5 separate regions of the Homo sapiens genome follow, and regions 2, 3, 4 and 5 are each linked to region 1. Evidence: promoter capture Hi-C in 16 types of primary human blood cells and fetal thymus (Javierre and others, 2016). All regions are on one chromosome and are shown on one strand. Each heading gives the region's core, a stretch centred on a gene start or on the middle of the fragment in contact. The rest is flanking DNA. Distances are from core to core; before and after follow the strand shown.

Region 1 (2,913 bases), core at 122-2,621:
GGGATGTAGCATCTCATGGCAGGCCAGGGATTTTTCTCCTCCCTCTCCCCCCCAACTCTAGTGACAAAGTTTCAGAGCATGGCAGCCCTCTTACTCAGAAAAACTCCCTCCTTCCTCATGGACCCCGTCCAGCTGTCCCCTGGGGAGAGTCCTGACCCTCTCCTCCGGCAGCCTCCCTCTCCCAAAGGACCCCCGAAGCCCCGAGGGCCACTCACTGTTTTGGAGTCGAGCTCGTGCCGCGATTGCGCCAGCACTTTATCCACCCCCGCCTGGTCCATGAAAGTGACGAAGCCGAAACCCCTGCGCGCCGTAGTGAGGGAGAGGCAGATGGTTACAAGGCAGTGAGTGGCGGGTGGAGGGGGGCGAGCCGGGAGCAGGAGGAGGGGGTGAGGGGCTCACCTGGATCTCTTGGTCAGGGGGTCCCGCATCACCAGACACTCCTTCACCTCCCCGAACTGGCCGAAGTATTCGCGCAGCCCTTCTGTAACCACACACCCGCCTTCGGACCAGCCCGGGCCCCGCGCCCTTCCCCCCCCCCCGTCCTTTGCCCCCGGTGACCCCGGAGCGGCCCGGCCGCCCCCGCGCCAAGCTGCCCGCGCGTTCTCCACTGCCGCCGCCCCCCACCGCCCTCGCCCCGTTCCCGCTGAGCCTCCTGGCGCCCACCGGGGCCCCGGGAAGCCGAGGGCCGAGCTGGGCTGGAAGGGGGACGGCTCCGGCCGGGTTCCCGCCGCTCCGGGAGCAGCCTCACAAAAGTTTGAGCCGCAGGTGCGAGCGGAGTTGGCGCTGCCGCCGGCGGGTCCCGGGGGCCCAGCCCACCCCCCGATACCCCCTGAACCCCTCATCTGCTCCCCTCCACCCGCTGGGCCGGGTGCGCTCGCGGATCGCCCTGCGCTCTCGGGGTCTCCGGGCGGGGCGCGAAAGAGGGCGCGAGGGCGCCCGGGGTCAGCAGGGCGCAGGGCCGGGCTGGGGTGTCCGGGTCCGGGGCGCCGGGGGGTCCGGGGTGCCCTGCCGGACCGGCGGGCGCTCCCGGGCTCGCTCACCCTGCGTAGTCTGCCAACTGAGTCCCCCGATGAACATCTTGCTGCGGGAGGAGGAGAGACACAAAGGGCCCGCGTGAGCGCCGGGCGCCAGGGCGCAGGGGGCGCGGGCCCGGGCTCCGGGGAGGCCCGGCCGGACCCGGATCGGCCATGTTGGCGGGGCCGGGGCGGGCGCGGGCCAAGCAGGCCGGGCCGGGCCGTACCAGGGGTCGTGCGGCGAGTCCGGGGAGGCGAGGCCGGGCTGGGGCGCGTCAGTCTCCATCGGGAGCCGCGGGCGGCGCGGGCAGCGGAGCGGCGGCGGCGGCGGCGGCGGCGGCGCTCGGCGCGGGGCAGATGAGGAGCGCGGCGAAGGGGGCCGGACGGACAGGCCATGCTGCCCCCTCCCCCGACCCCGCTCGGGCGGGCGGGCGGGGACGGCCGAGGGGAGGGCCCGCCGGGGGCCGACCTGCCGGCTCCTCCCCCCGCCGCCCTGCGCGCATAAAGCCCCGCGCTCGCCCGCGAGCCCGGGCGCCCGCGGAGGCGGCGGCGCCGGGACCCCCTTCCCGCGGGGCTCCTGGGTCTCCGGGGCCGAGCGAGACCCCCGAATCCCGGTGCGGGCCGGGACCAGGGCGCGGCCGCACCCCCCACCCACCCCGGCGCGGGGGCCCGGCCGCGGGAACGCCCTCCCGGAATGAAGCGCTTCCCGGTGCCTTCAAGGTAGCTCGGTTCCGGATCGGGAACCCCCCCGGTCTTCCCTCTCAGGTCCCTGCTGTCCAGAATTGAAGAGAACCCCAATCTCCTCGGGTCGGGCGGGAGATAGCCCTAGTGCTCCCCAGTCCCCACATGCTCCATTTCCCCAGTCGGAGCGAGAAGCCGCCCTCAGAGCCCCCAGTTTCCTCCCAACCTAATTTACAGCCCCCCACCCCCACCCCAGGGCTCTAATTTAGAGCCCTCGCTCCGTTCCCAGGATCCCATATCCAGTTTGGGGGACCCACTCAGTGCCTCGCGTCCCGAGTGGGGAACCTCCATCAGCACCCCAGTAGAAACCGTATCCTCTTCCCCAATCCGTCCTCAGCCCTTGGTGTCCAAAGTGAGAGTCCCCCTTAGTTTCCCCAAATCCCTGCCGTCCACATTAGTGGACCCTATGGTCTGTTGAGAAAATCCCGCGCCCCAAGCCCGGGTTCTCAGTTTGCCGCCACCCCCACCTCCCGGTGTGAGGAGTCTCCCCTGGTTCTCTCCCTCCCTGGCCGGTTTTTGTGAGATCCATTCAGACTCCTGTCCTGATTCGGGAAACCCGGTTCCAGACACTCACCACCCCCACCACACCGAGGCTGGAGGAAAAGGCAGTGCCTCTTAGAGCCTCCTGTTTCCAGTTTAGGAGCCCAACGCCTCAGCTGTGCACCGTCCCCTCCGAATGACCCCCTTCTTTTGCAGAGGTCTAAGCTCCACCCCATCCCATTGGAAGAGCCTAAACTACCTACCCACTGCATTTGGAATGACTTCCCTCAGTCCCTCTTATTTTGAGGCTACTCCCCGTGAAGGCAAACACCTTCCTTTCTACCCCCATCTTCTGGGTCTCTGGGATCCCCCAGTACTTGCACCCAAGGCTCCTTGGAGTCACCTTACGTACCCCTAAAATTCCCTCCCTCCAGCCTGGGAACAACCCTGAGAAAGTATTCTGGTTCACCAGGGGAGCTGCGGGGCCACTCTCCTTATCCCCACCTCTCCTTATCCCCGCCTCTCCATATCCCCACCTCTCCATATTCCCACCTCTCCATATCCAAGCCTTAGGACCCTTCACTTCCCCAGCTGAAACCAGCCAAAAAAGGATCAAACCAGGAAGCTTAGGTGGCCAACACCCCTTCTCCCCATCCCTGCTGGGGGTCTCAGTGCCACA
Region 2 (2,913 bases), core at 148-2,647, 860 kb after region 1:
GTGCCAGGTGCTGAGGAAAGCCTTGCCGTGTCTCTGCTGCTCATCCCCAGGGAGGCATCATGGGCATCCAGGTCAACTGGGACTGCAACCTGGACAGAGCCGCCTCCCTCTGCTTGCCCAGGTACTCCTTCCGCCGCCTCGATACACGGGACGTTGAGCACAACGTATCTCCTGGCTACAATTTCAGGTGGGCGTGAGCTTGGGCCCCTCGCTCATGTTGTAGGGGGTGCTGGTGGCTGCGTACGTGCCAGTGGGCCGCCCACTGAAGACCAGCACTCAGGCAGCACCCCAAGGGCAGGCTGCCGGTCCCCCGTCCAAGGCGGCGGGAAGGCCATGCTGGGAAAATGCCCTTAGTGGTGTCCTGCTCCGGGGCCATCCCGGCCCCCGAGACCCCTCCTTGCCCTTTCCTGCCGCAAGAAACATGTTGAGATGGTTCTTAGAGCAGCCAGGAGAAGCTGGGGGCTTAAGCTTTCCAGCACCTGCCTCAGCCATGACCTCCATTCACTGCCTCAAGGAGCGGATGATCTTGTGATCCTCCAGTCCAAAGGCCTCTGGGGCCTGGCCCAGGAATTGGTTTCTCAAAGGTTGAACCTGTGCCAGAATCTCCAGAGTGCAGGGGACACAGGTCTGAGGCCCCTGAAAGGCCTTGCTGGGTTCCCTGCTGCAAATGCTGGCATCTCGGTGTCCTGGGGCAGATGTAAGCGAGTCCCACAAACAGTGGCTTGCAACTACAGGACTTGATTCTCTCACAGTTCTCACAGTTCTAGAGGCCACAACCTAAAATCCAGGCATCAGCAGGGCTGTGCTCGCTCTGAAGGCTCTGGAGAGAGTCCTTACTTGTCTCTCCTGGCTTCTGGTAGCCCACGGTGTTCCTTGGCTTGTGGATGCATCACTCCAGTCTCTGCCTCTCCTGTCATGAGGCCTTCTGCCTTGTATGTGTCTCTGTGTCTTTTCTTCTTGTAAGGATATCAGTCACTGAATTTAGGGCCCACCCTACTCTAGTATGACCTCATCTTAACAAATTACGTCTGCCAATATCCCATTTCCAAATAAGGTCACACTCCCAAGCTTCAGGTAGATGTGAATTTTTGGGGACACACTGTTCAACCCACTACAGCTGATGATCTCATGATCAGAATCTATAGCCAGGTAAATTTCCACGTACCCTTTGTTGCATTTTTCACAGTCCTTAAAAAGGAAGCGCTCCAGGCCGGGCGCAGTGACTCACACCTGTAATCCTAGCACTTTGGGAGGCCAAGGCGGGCAGATCACCTGAGGCCAGCATGGCGAAACCCCATCTCTACTAAAAAAAATACAAAAATTAGCTGGGCATGGTGGCGCATGCCTGTAATCCCAGCAACTTGGGAGGCTGAGGCAGGAGAATCGCTTGAGCCAGGGAGGCAGAGGTTGCAGTGAGCCGAGATCGCACTGCTGCACTCCAGCCTGGGCGACAAAGCAAGTCTCCGTCTCAGGGGGAAAAAAAAGAGGCCCTGCAAGGACCATCCCTGGGCGCGGTCAGCGGTGCTTTGGGCTGCACTTGCCTCCCCCTAGTGGTGACGTGTGGAATCCGATCCATACGGGATCCTAAGACCTCTGTAATTGTGGGATCTGCTGTCCTTTTGAACCTTCTGGCTCACTGAGTAAAGCAGATATTTGAATTTTTCTTTTCTAGCAGTTAGATTTGTGTTATTCCATCTCTACTGTCACACACTTCTTGTGGAAACCTCAAGCTTAGGTCAGAGCCCTAAAACGGAAAGAACTCAGGACGCCTATCCCCCAACCTCGGGCAGCACCAGGCCCTGCCTGTGTCTCCCAGGCCTGGCCCATGGCGTGGAAGTTGTGGGCCAGATAGAGCATGGAGCTAGGGTGCGGGCCGAGGCTCCTGATGGATCCCTGGAGAACATGGGGCAGCAGATGGTATGTCTTGACGGTTCTTCACCAACCATCCATCCCCTGCTCATGCGTGTGCGCTCTCTCGCGTGCTCGCTCTCTCTCTCTCTCATATATGTATATGTATATATGTGTATATATATATATAGCCATTATATATATAGCCATTATATATATATATTTTTTTTTTTTTCTTCTTTTTTAAGGGAGTGACTTGCTCTGTCACCCAGGTTGGAGTGCAGTGGTGCGATTTCAGCTCACTGCAGCCTTTGCCTCCCGGGTTCAAGACATTCTCCTGCCTCAGCCGCCTGAGTAGCTGGGATTACAGGCGCCCGCCACCACACCCAGCTAATTTTTTGTATTTTTATTAGAGACGGGGTTTCTCCACATTGGCCAGGGTGGTCTCGAGCTCCTCACCTCAAGTGATCCACCTGCCTCGGCCTCCCAAAGTGCCGGAATTACAGGTGTGAGCCACCGCACCCAGCCATATATTTTTAAATGGTCTTACTGAGATGCAATTCACATGCCATACCGTTCACACATTTGAAGTGCAGAATTCATAGTTTTCACTATATTCACAGATAAGTGCAGGCTTCACCACAGTCGATTTTAGAACATTTCCGTCATCTCAAAAAGAAACCCTGCACCCTTCTGTCATCCCCCGGCCCCTGGCAACAGTGGTCTACTTTCTGTCTCTGCAGATGTGCCTCTTCTGAGCATTTCATATAATCAATATGTGGCCTTTTGCGTCTGGCTCCTTCCCCTTAGCCTGATGTTTTCAAGCTTCATCCATGTCGTAGCCTGTGTCAGTACCTCGTCTCTTTTTATGGCCAAATCATATTCTGCTGTGTTGACAGACGACGTTTTGTTCATCTCTTTATCTGTGTGACGAACGAGTGGTTCTTTTTGTTGTTGTTGTTGTTGTTGAAGACTGTGTGCACAGAATCAATGTTTCTTTGAAAAAATAAATAAATTTAAAAAGCCCTAGGTCAAGAGATTGAGACCATCATGGCCAACTTGGTG
Region 3 (2,913 bases), core at 255-2,754, 720 kb after region 1:
CAGAGAAGAGCTCATCTCAGATGATGTTTAACACTCACCTGAATATGTAACATTAGATTGAGATGTTGCTTTCTATGAAAAGTGTCGCAACTTTACATAGTATGTTTCTTTTCTAGTTGTAAGACTAGTGATTGACTTAACAATTTAGATTTTTCACAGATGAACTCAAAGAAGACCACAGCATAACAGTGTTAAGAGTTTTGTCTTAAATATGGGACACTGAACCCACCAGGAACCAGGATGATTGAATGAGCTTAACTGATTTTCCACAGTACCTTCAACTGATGGTTTTTCCCGCTGCACAGAATGGTGTGGCCAGCTGTGGATTTTTCTGACCCACGGCCTGGGGCCAGCCATAAAGTGTGCCGACTCCTCAGGAACACTCTCCTACCCTGGAGTCAACGTTCTCCCAAGTTATTACAAGGAAGACATCTTGCTGGGAGAATATCATAGAGAAACTTACAGCAATTGATTCCCAGTTCAAACTTTTGACCTTTTTCACCATCTGCATAAGAATCCACCTGAATCCGAGTAGGGCTCTGGGAAGCCCCTGCAGTGTGTGTTGCACTTAGTACTCAGCAGACTGTGTAGGCAAATACCTGCCTTCAGAGGAGATGATATAGAGAGGCAGCAAGTACTGTGTCCGGAATTGGTGGGTTCTTGGTCTCACTGACTTCAAAAATGAAGCCGCGGACTCTCGTGGCCAGTGTTACAGTTCTTAAAGGCCCCCTGTCTGGAGTTTGTTACTTCTGATGCTCGGATGTGTTTGCAGTTTCTTCCTTCCGGTGGGTTTGTGGTCTCGCTGGTTCCAGAGTGAAGCTGCAGACTTTTACAGTGAGTGTTACAGCTCATAAAAGCAGCGTGGACCCAAAGAATGAGCAGTAGCAAGATTTATTGCAAACAGCAAAAGAATAAAGCTTCCACACTATGAAAACGGGTCGGAGCGGGTTGCCACTACTACCTCTGGCAGCCTGCTTTTATTCTTATCTGGCCCCACCCACATCCTGCTGATTGGTCCATTTTACAGAGAGCCAATTGGTCCATTTTACAGAGAGCTGATTGGTCCGTTTTGACAGGGTGCTGATTGGTGCATTTACAATCCCTGAGCTAGACACAAAAGTTCTCCAAGTCCCCACCAGAGTAGCTAGATACAGAGTGTCCATTGGTGCATTCACAAACCCTGAGCTAGACACAGGGTGCTGATTGGTGTGTTTACAAACCTTGAGCTCTATATAGAGTGCCGATTGGTGTATTTACAATCCCTTAGCTAGACATAAAGGTTCTCCAAGTCCCCATCAGACTCAGGAGCCCAGCTGGCTTCAGCCAGTGGATTCCGCACGAGGGCCGCAGGTGGAGCTGCCTGCCAGTCCCGCAAGGTGCGCCCGTGCTCCTCAGCCCTTGGGCAGTCGATGGGACTGGGCGCCGTGGGGCAGGGGGCAGCACTTGTCGGGGAGACTCAGGCAGTGCAGGAGCCCACGGGGGCGGGGTGGAGGTTGGGGAGACTCAGGCTCAGGCATGGGGGGCTGCAGGTCCCGAGCCCTGCCCCACGGGGATGCAGCTAAGGCCCGGCGAGAAGTCTAGCACAGCAGCTGCTGGCCCAGGTGCTAAGCCCCTCACTGCCCGGGGCGGCGGTGCCGGCCGGCCGCTCCGAGTGCAGGGCCTGCCGAGCCCACGCCCACCTGGAACTCGCACTGGCCCGCAAGCGCTGCGCGCAGCCCTGGTTCCTGCTCGCGCCTCTCCCTCCACACCTCTCCACAAGCCGAGGGAGCCGGCTCCAGTCTTGGCCAGACCAGAAAGGGGCTCCCACAGTGCAGCGGCGGGCTGAAGGGCTCCTCAAGTGCCGCCAAAGTGGGAGCCCAGGCAGAGGAGGCGCTGAGAGCGAGCGAGGGCTGCTAGCACGCTGTCACCTCTCACTGGGGGGCCAGGCAGTCCTGCTCTTATCCCAAGTCAGTTTCCCACAGGAGGGATCTGCCCAACCTAGTGCTGGCTTTTTCAAGTGCTTCCTTTGCATATTCTAAATCAACTCAAAATGGATTAGAGACTTCAATGTAAGACCTGAAATCATAAAACTACGAGAAGAAAACACAGGGGAAAAGCTTCCTGACGTTGCAAACCGTACATCTCATAAGGAGGCAATATCAAGAATATATACGGAACTCATGGAACACAGTAGCAAAAAACAAATCACCTGATTGAAAATGGGCAAAGAACCTGAACAGATATTTATCAAAAGAAGACATATAAATGCCCAACGGGTGTATGAAAAAGTGCTCAACAGCACTAATCATCAGGGAAATGCAAATCAAAACCTCAATGAGACATCACCTCACACCTGTTAGAATGGCTATTATCCAAAAGAGGAAAGATAACAACTGTTATTGAGGATGTGGGGGAAAGGGATCACTGTACACTGTTAGTAAAAATGTAAACTTGTACAGCCATTATGGAAAATAACATCCATCCACAGATGAATGGGTGAGGGAAACGTGTCTACGCAATGGAATATTATTCAGCTCCAAAAAAGAAGGAAATCCTGCCATTTCCAACAGCCTGGATGAACCTGCTATGCTAAGTGAGATAAGTAAGCACAGAAAGACTAATACTGCATGATCTCAGCCTGGTACAGTGGCTCACGCCTGTAATCCCAACACTTCAGGAGGCTGAGGCAGGTGGATCACCTGAGGTCAGGAGTTTGAGACCAGCATGGCCAACATGGTGAAACTCCATCTCTATTAAAGATACAAAAATAGATTGTGGTGGTGCACGCCTGTAGTCCCAGCTACTCGGGAGGCTGAGGCAGAATCGCTTGAACCCAGGAGGCAGAGGTCGCAGTGAGCCAAGATGGCACCACTGCACTCCAGCCTGGGCGACAGAGCGAGACTCCACATCAAGAAAAATAAATAAATAAATAAA
Region 4 (2,913 bases), core at 414-2,913, 640 kb after region 1:
ACAGTTCTAGGGAGATGGAGGTTTCACCACTTGGCCACTAGTCTCAAATAACTGGAAGGTTCCTTTTTTCCTGAGGTCATGAAATGTTCTGGAACCACAGCGCCCCCGCCAGCCCTCCGTGGGAGCACAGAGGGGCAGGCCTTGATTGGTCTTCTCACCCTACAGCCACTTTTTTGGCCCAACTCTCGAGCAAGCCTTCATCACCATCAGGGTCTCATGGGCAGTCTGGGTTTGCCAGCCCAGTCCTTGAACTTGGAGAGGGAGGTGGGGCTTGGAAATGCCTTGTCCCCAGGGTGGGGGGGACACCTTGTCCTTGGAGCTGGCTGAGCCCTGTGCCCATGGCTGGGTTCAGTTTGCAGGTATAGCTGTAGCACTCTTTGCTGGTGGGAATGGAGAGGTCTCGCTGGCCTTCTTTGCCTTTTTCTTCTTTTTGGTCCCAAGCGACACCTGGTCCCCGTTGAGCTCACCTGACTTCTGCTTCTGGACTGTGGCCATGCTGGTGGGGGTGGTGGCAGCGACAGCCGAGTCGACACTGGCCACCTTCTTGGCTTTCTTTTTCAACTTCCTTTTCTTCTTTGCCTCCTTCTCCACTGTTCCAGGGCTGTGGATGGCTGACTCCTGTAGGATGTCGGACGCCGACACAGCTGCCTCCCGGCACCGCCGCCACTCCTCGTCACTGTCCTCACTGCTGCAACGAGAGGGTACCCTGGGTTAGCTGGAGTCAGGACACAGCCCCAGAGCTGCCTCTCGCTGTCCTCCCTTGGTCCAGGTCACCAGAAGGTGGCCGCAGAGAGAGGCAGGTAGTGAGTTCAGGCTTGGGAGTGAGGCCAACCTGGCTTCCAATACTGGCTTCTGGGCGTAGCAGCCTTGTGACCTCCTTAAGTGACTTAACCTCTCTGACTGTATCATCTCTAAAACGGGGATCTTAACAGAGTCCAGGCCTCCCAGGGATGTCCCAGGAGGCAACTATGATCAAGTGAGGTGTCTGGCCCAAGACAGGTGCTCAAAAGCAGTAAACATCCAAAGCTGCCGCCAAGAGGGCTTTCCCTCCCGCTGAGCTCATGATTTCTCCAGCTGCCTGACAGGGCCACTGCCTTGGCCTGGTCCTGACTGGAGTCTGCTTGGCTATTCCAGGGAACCCACCAAGACAGAAGAGGAGAAAAAAGGAGGGGACGTGAGGAGAGGTGTGAGTTCTCACCTGGAGCTGGAGGGCTGTCGCTTTCGGCGGGGTTGGGGAGACTCTTCCTTCTCACGGCCTCCAGGGACAGATGTGAAGAAAAGGCGGAAACCTAAGATTCAATGGGGCAGAGTCAAACAAAAACAAAACAAAACAAAAAGAAACATAAAAAAATAAAAAATAAAGAAACAAAAAAGAAAAAAATTTTAAAAAGGAAAACGAAAGAAAGAAAAGATAAAGAGAAACAAAAAAAAAATTTTAAGAAGACACAAAATAAAAAAATTTAAAAAAGAAACAATAACAAAAAAACCCAACCAAGCAAACAAACAAAAAAAACAAAGGAGCAGAGTCAGCACCCCCAGATGCCAGCCCCTCCTCCCAGGTGCCAGGTGCTGAAGCTGCCCCGCCTCTGCCCTCAGGAGCTCCTGGTCCAGAGGCAAAGACCCAGGAATCAGTCGTCTAACTACAAAGTGATTCTGCATCTGCCAAGGGTCATGCTGATGCCTGATGGAGCCAGTGGAGGGCGCGCTGGAGCAGGAGCCAGCAGCCACATCAGCTCAGCAAGCCCTCAGAGGCTTCTGGAAGTCAGCACTTGAGCTCCTGACCTAAGGCAGCCTTCAAAGTGGCAAATGTGTTGGTACAGGACAGACGCAGATGGGCGAGGCTGTGGAGGGCAGCAGTAAAGTGCTCCTGCTCAGGGTGACACAGACGAGGCCGCCTCAGGCAAATGACTTCGTTTCTCAGGGCCTCAGTCTCCTTGTCTGTACATGGGGTTCAATCATAATACCTGCCTCACCACAGGGGCTGAGCAGATGAAAGAATGGTGAGGTGGCCCATGCCTGTAACCCCAGTACTTTGGTAGTCTGAGGCGGGAGGATAGCTTGAGGCCAGGAGTTTAAGACCAGCCTGGGCAACATGACAGAACCCTGTCTCTAAAAAAAAATACAAAAATTAGCCAGGTGTGGTGGTGCACGCCTGTAGTCCCAGAACTTTGGAAGGCTAAGGTGGGCAGATGGCTTGAGGCCAGGAGTTCAAGACCAGCCTGGGCAACATAGCGAGATCCTGTCTCTAAAAAACATAAATAATTAGCCAGGGGTGGTGGTGTGTGTCTGTGGTCCCAGCTACTCAGGAAGCTGAGGTGGGAGGACTGCTTGGGTCCGGGAGGTTGAGGCTGCATTGAGCTATAATTGCTCCACTGCACTCCAGCCTAGGTGGCAGAGAGAGTTCCTATCTCAAAAAAAGAAAAAAAAAAAAGAATATACCAAAACTGTTTCGCCCACCTCCAGACACACATTAGGTGCTTAATAAATGATAGCTTCTATTAAGTATAACCACTCACCATCATCCTCCAAAGCGACTTTCTGTACCTTAGCTTTTGCTGGCTCCTTTGCTGCTTCTGAGATGGTAATGAAGCTACAGGGAGACGAGACGGTTGATTTAAGATGAGATTTTTGGATAACGACAAAAACAAAATTCTTTTTCAAGTGGAGGGGATGGGGTATGTGATTGTAAATGCAAAAGCGAAAGCGTGCTGGCCTAGTAAGAGGGCTGATGGTCTGGTTATAACATGCTGACCAGCCTCTGCCACGCGAACTGCAGTGCTTCATTTCTTTAAAGCCCACTTTATTCCAGTAAGTGTTGAAGAAGTTTTAAAGACATAGTAAAACAAGATGAGGCCAGGCATGGTGGCTCACGCCTGTAATCCTAGCACTTTGGGAGGCCAAGGCAGGCAGATC
Region 5 (2,913 bases), core at 233-2,732, 600 kb after region 1:
TTTTTTATTTTTAGTTTTTGAGGCAGGGTCTCACTCTGTCGCCCAGGCTGGAGTGCAGTGGTGCAATCTTGGCTCACTGCAACCTCTGTCTCCTGGGTTCAAGCGATTCTTCTGCCTCAGCCTCCCTAGTAGCTCGGATTACAGTTGTTTGCCACCACGCCCGGCTAATTTTTGTATTTTTAGTAGAAATGAGGTTTCGCCATGTTGGCCAGACTGGTCTCGAACTCCTGACCTCAAATGATCCACCTGCCTCGGCCTCCCAAAGTGCTGGGATTGCAGGTGTGATCCACCACACCTGGCCGCTTGCAGGGTGTTGGACACTGTGGATATCACCTCATTCATTCTCCTAACAACCCAAGAGAAGAGGAACTGAGGCAAAGAGAAGTTAAGCAAGTTGCCCAAGGCCATACGGCTAGTAAACGGCAGAACGAGGCTCAAACCCAGGCACTCTGGCTCTAGAGTGTGTGTTCCTAACCACTGTGCTCTAGCACCTCGGAACCTTAGTCTCTTCATCTGCAAAATCAGCACTGAGGTGACAAGGCCAACGAGCAGAGGGTTGGAGTTACCCAGAACAACAACAACAACAAAAGTAATAGTAACACATATTTGGTCAAGGCTTAGATTCTGGCGTCATGGGGATCTGGGTTCAAATCCTAATTCTGCCTTAGCCGATTAGGGTCCCTATCCTCTTAAAGCCTTGGTTTCCTTATCTGTAAAATGGGGATATCATGAAGCTGTTAGATGTTAAATGAGAAAATGAATGAGAAAATTGCATGTACTGTCCATAAAGTTGAAAAGATAATAGGGGTGGGAAGGAGAACAGTCCGAGTTTGAATGCAGGTGGGCCCTGGGGCATTGTCTGGACTGAAGGACAAGGGTCAGTTGAATTGCCAAAGAGCTCTGAGACTGGCTGAAGGGACACTCGTCTTGTGCTAGCTGCTAAGACCAAGGGGAAGCCTGTGCCTCGCCCGAATTTTAGTCTTGCAAACAGCTGCTCACCCAGTAGGAGAGAATTGTGATAAAACTCATAGCCACCATTTCTTGAATATCTACTATGCCCCGGGACACAGCAGACTATTTTAGAGAATTTGCGAAGGAAACACAGTGACATCTGTTGGACACCTTGCAAACTACCAGCTCAGGATAGTTAAATTTGAATGTTAGATGGAGGGAACTTCCTTTCCACAATGACATGATTTTGTAAAGCTGAGTGTATGGCAGTTGTCATGATTAAAAGCAAGTGCCATGCAGAAGTTATTGTGTAACAGGAAATGAGATTAGATAGCGTCCAATCTAATCTCAAGGTTTGAGTAGCTGTGGACAGCCCAACAGGCACAGGCCTCCCGTTAGTACATCCATACGAGAAGTTAAGAATGAGTGAAAATAGTTTTTTTTTTTTTAATTTATGTGCATTATTTTTTTCAAGCAGCTACCTTGTTAGGACATACTTAATAGTTATCTTGGCCTACCTACTGCACTTACTAAACAACTGTTCACTTTTTAATTTTTAATTTTCAGATTTTTTTGAGACGGATTGTTACTCTATCGCCCAGGCTGGAGTGCAGTGGCGTGATCTCTGCTCACTGCAACCTCCGCCTCCCGGGTTCAAGCTATTCTCCTGCCTCAGCCTCCTGAGTATCTGGGACTACAGGTGTGCGCCACCACATCCAGCTAATTTTTGTATTTTTAGTAGAGATGGGGTTTTACCATGTTGGCCAGGCTGATCTGGAACTCCTGACCTCAGGTGATCCACCTGCCTCGGTCTCCCAAAGCGCTGGGATTACAGGTATGAGCTACCATGTCCGGCTGTTCCTTTTTTTTTTTTTCTTTTTCTTTTTTTTTTGAGACGGAGTTTCTCTCTGTCACCCAGGCTGGAGTGCAGTGTCATGATCTCAGCTCACTGCAACCTCTGCCTTCTGGGTTCAAGTGATTCTCCTGCCTCAGCCTTCCGACTAGCTGGGATTATAGGTGCCCACTGACAAGCCTGGCTAATTTTTGTATTTTTAGTAGAGACGGGTTTTCACCATGTTGGCCAGGCTGGTCTCGAACTCCTGACCTCAAGTGATCCACCCACTTCGGTCTCCCAAAGTGCTGGGATGACAGGCATGAGCCACTGCGCCCAGCCACTGTTCGCTTTTTTTCTCAGTGGTTCTCTAGTCCATTGCCTTAACCACTCACCATGACTACAGCTCTTATTTGCAGTGACTCTCAAGAATGCAAATGCAAATGCCATTCCTGACCTCGAGTTAATTCAGCTTTGTCCCCTGAGCATGGGGGAAAGGCAGGCTGGGGGCTGGAACTTTCTGCTTGTGTACCTATCTCTTTAGACTCTGGAGGCTCCTCCCCAATCTCTGTCATTCCCTCTCCAACCAAATCCACCTGCCGTCCCAGACTCAAATGCTCAGCCACCTAACTGCCTGAGGACCCAGCAGTTAATGAGTTTACATGCTGGGGGCAGGAGTCAGGGCCAACACTCCTTGGTTCCTCTGGCTCCCTGGAAAGGGAAAGTCACCAAGAGGCAGCTGCAGGCAGCAAAGAGAATAAGCAGGAGAACCTCAAAGCCACAAAGGGACAGCACACAGCATCTTCCCTGTTTAGCCTGGACTTGAGAATGCTGTCCCCAGCAGTAAGCTGCTCAACCTCAAAGCAACTTGCACGGGGGTTTACAAAAAAATGCACTTGGCCGGGCACGGTGGCTCACGCCTATAATCCCAACAGTTTGGGAGGCCGAGGTGGGTGGATCTTTTGAGGCCAGGAGTTTGAGACCAGCCTGGCAAACATGGTGAAACCCTGTCTCTACCAAAAATACAAAAATTAGCCAGGCATGGTGGTGTGTGCCTGTAGTCCCAGCTACTCAGGAGGCTAAGGTAGGAGGATTGCTCGAACCCAGGAGGCAGAGGTTACAGTGAGCTG

Evidence for each region. The method cuts DNA at HindIII sites, captures the fragments that hold promoters and counts their contacts. A CHiCAGO score of 5 or more calls a contact.
Region 2: a contact is called between a fragment that was not itself captured here and the fragment with the promoter of MSI1 in region 1, in 1 of 17 cell types (naive B cells). The highest score is 5.3, in naive B cells.
Region 3: a fragment that was not itself captured here is called in contact with the fragment with the promoter of MSI1 in region 1 in 1 of 17 cell types (naive B cells); the score reaches 5.7 in naive B cells.
Region 4: a fragment that was not itself captured here is called in contact with the fragment with the promoter of MSI1 in region 1 in 2 of 17 cell types (naive B cells and M0 macrophages); the score reaches 7.4 in naive B cells.
Region 5: a contact is called between the fragment with the promoter of HNF1A-AS1 here and the fragment with the promoter of MSI1 in region 1, in 3 of 17 cell types (activated CD4 T cells, total B cells and naive B cells). The highest score is 9.2, in activated CD4 T cells.

The regions. Positions count from the first base shown.
Region 1 is chr12:120,367,793-120,370,705 of GRCh38, forward strand. MSI1 (musashi RNA binding protein 1) reads right to left here and starts at 1,372. Exons shown (of 15, transcript NM_002442.4): 1 at 1,241-1,372; 2 at 1,041-1,081; 3 at 400-481; 4 at 216-300. The coding sequence starts at 1,299. The HindIII fragment of the contact is 14,859 bases long and covers 1-2,857 here.
Region 2 is chr12:121,228,913-121,231,825 of GRCh38, forward strand. It overlaps P2RX4 (purinergic receptor P2X 4), which reads left to right. Exons shown (of 12, transcript NM_002560.3): 8 at 51-187. Among named protein-coding and RNA genes, the nearest start is that of P2RX4, 20 kb to the left of the region's middle. RefSeq lists a silencer at 1,354-1,648 and an enhancer at 1,595-1,644. The HindIII fragment of the contact is 662 bases long and covers 1,067-1,728 here.
Region 3 is chr12:121,092,151-121,095,063 of GRCh38, forward strand. LOC105378258 (a long non-coding RNA gene) reads right to left here and starts at 845. Exons shown (of 4, transcript XR_007063492.1): 1 at 1-845. RefSeq lists an enhancer at 934-1,435. The HindIII fragment of the contact is 1,179 bases long and covers 916-2,094 here.
Region 4 is chr12:121,003,805-121,006,717 of GRCh38, forward strand. It overlaps C12orf43 (chromosome 12 open reading frame 43), which reads right to left. Exons shown (of 6, transcript NM_022895.3): 4 at 2,517-2,590; 5 at 1,199-1,289; 6 at 1-685. The coding sequence ends at 349. Among named protein-coding and RNA genes, the nearest start is that of C12orf43, 11 kb to the right of the region's middle. The HindIII fragment of the contact is 4,279 bases long and covers 1-2,913 here.
Region 5 is chr12:120,970,810-120,973,722 of GRCh38, forward strand. HNF1A-AS1 (HNF1A antisense RNA 1) reads right to left here and starts at 1,483. Exons shown (of 1, transcript NR_024345.1): 1 at 1-1,483. RefSeq lists an enhancer at 2,076-2,603. The HindIII fragment of the contact is 11,110 bases long and covers 1-2,913 here.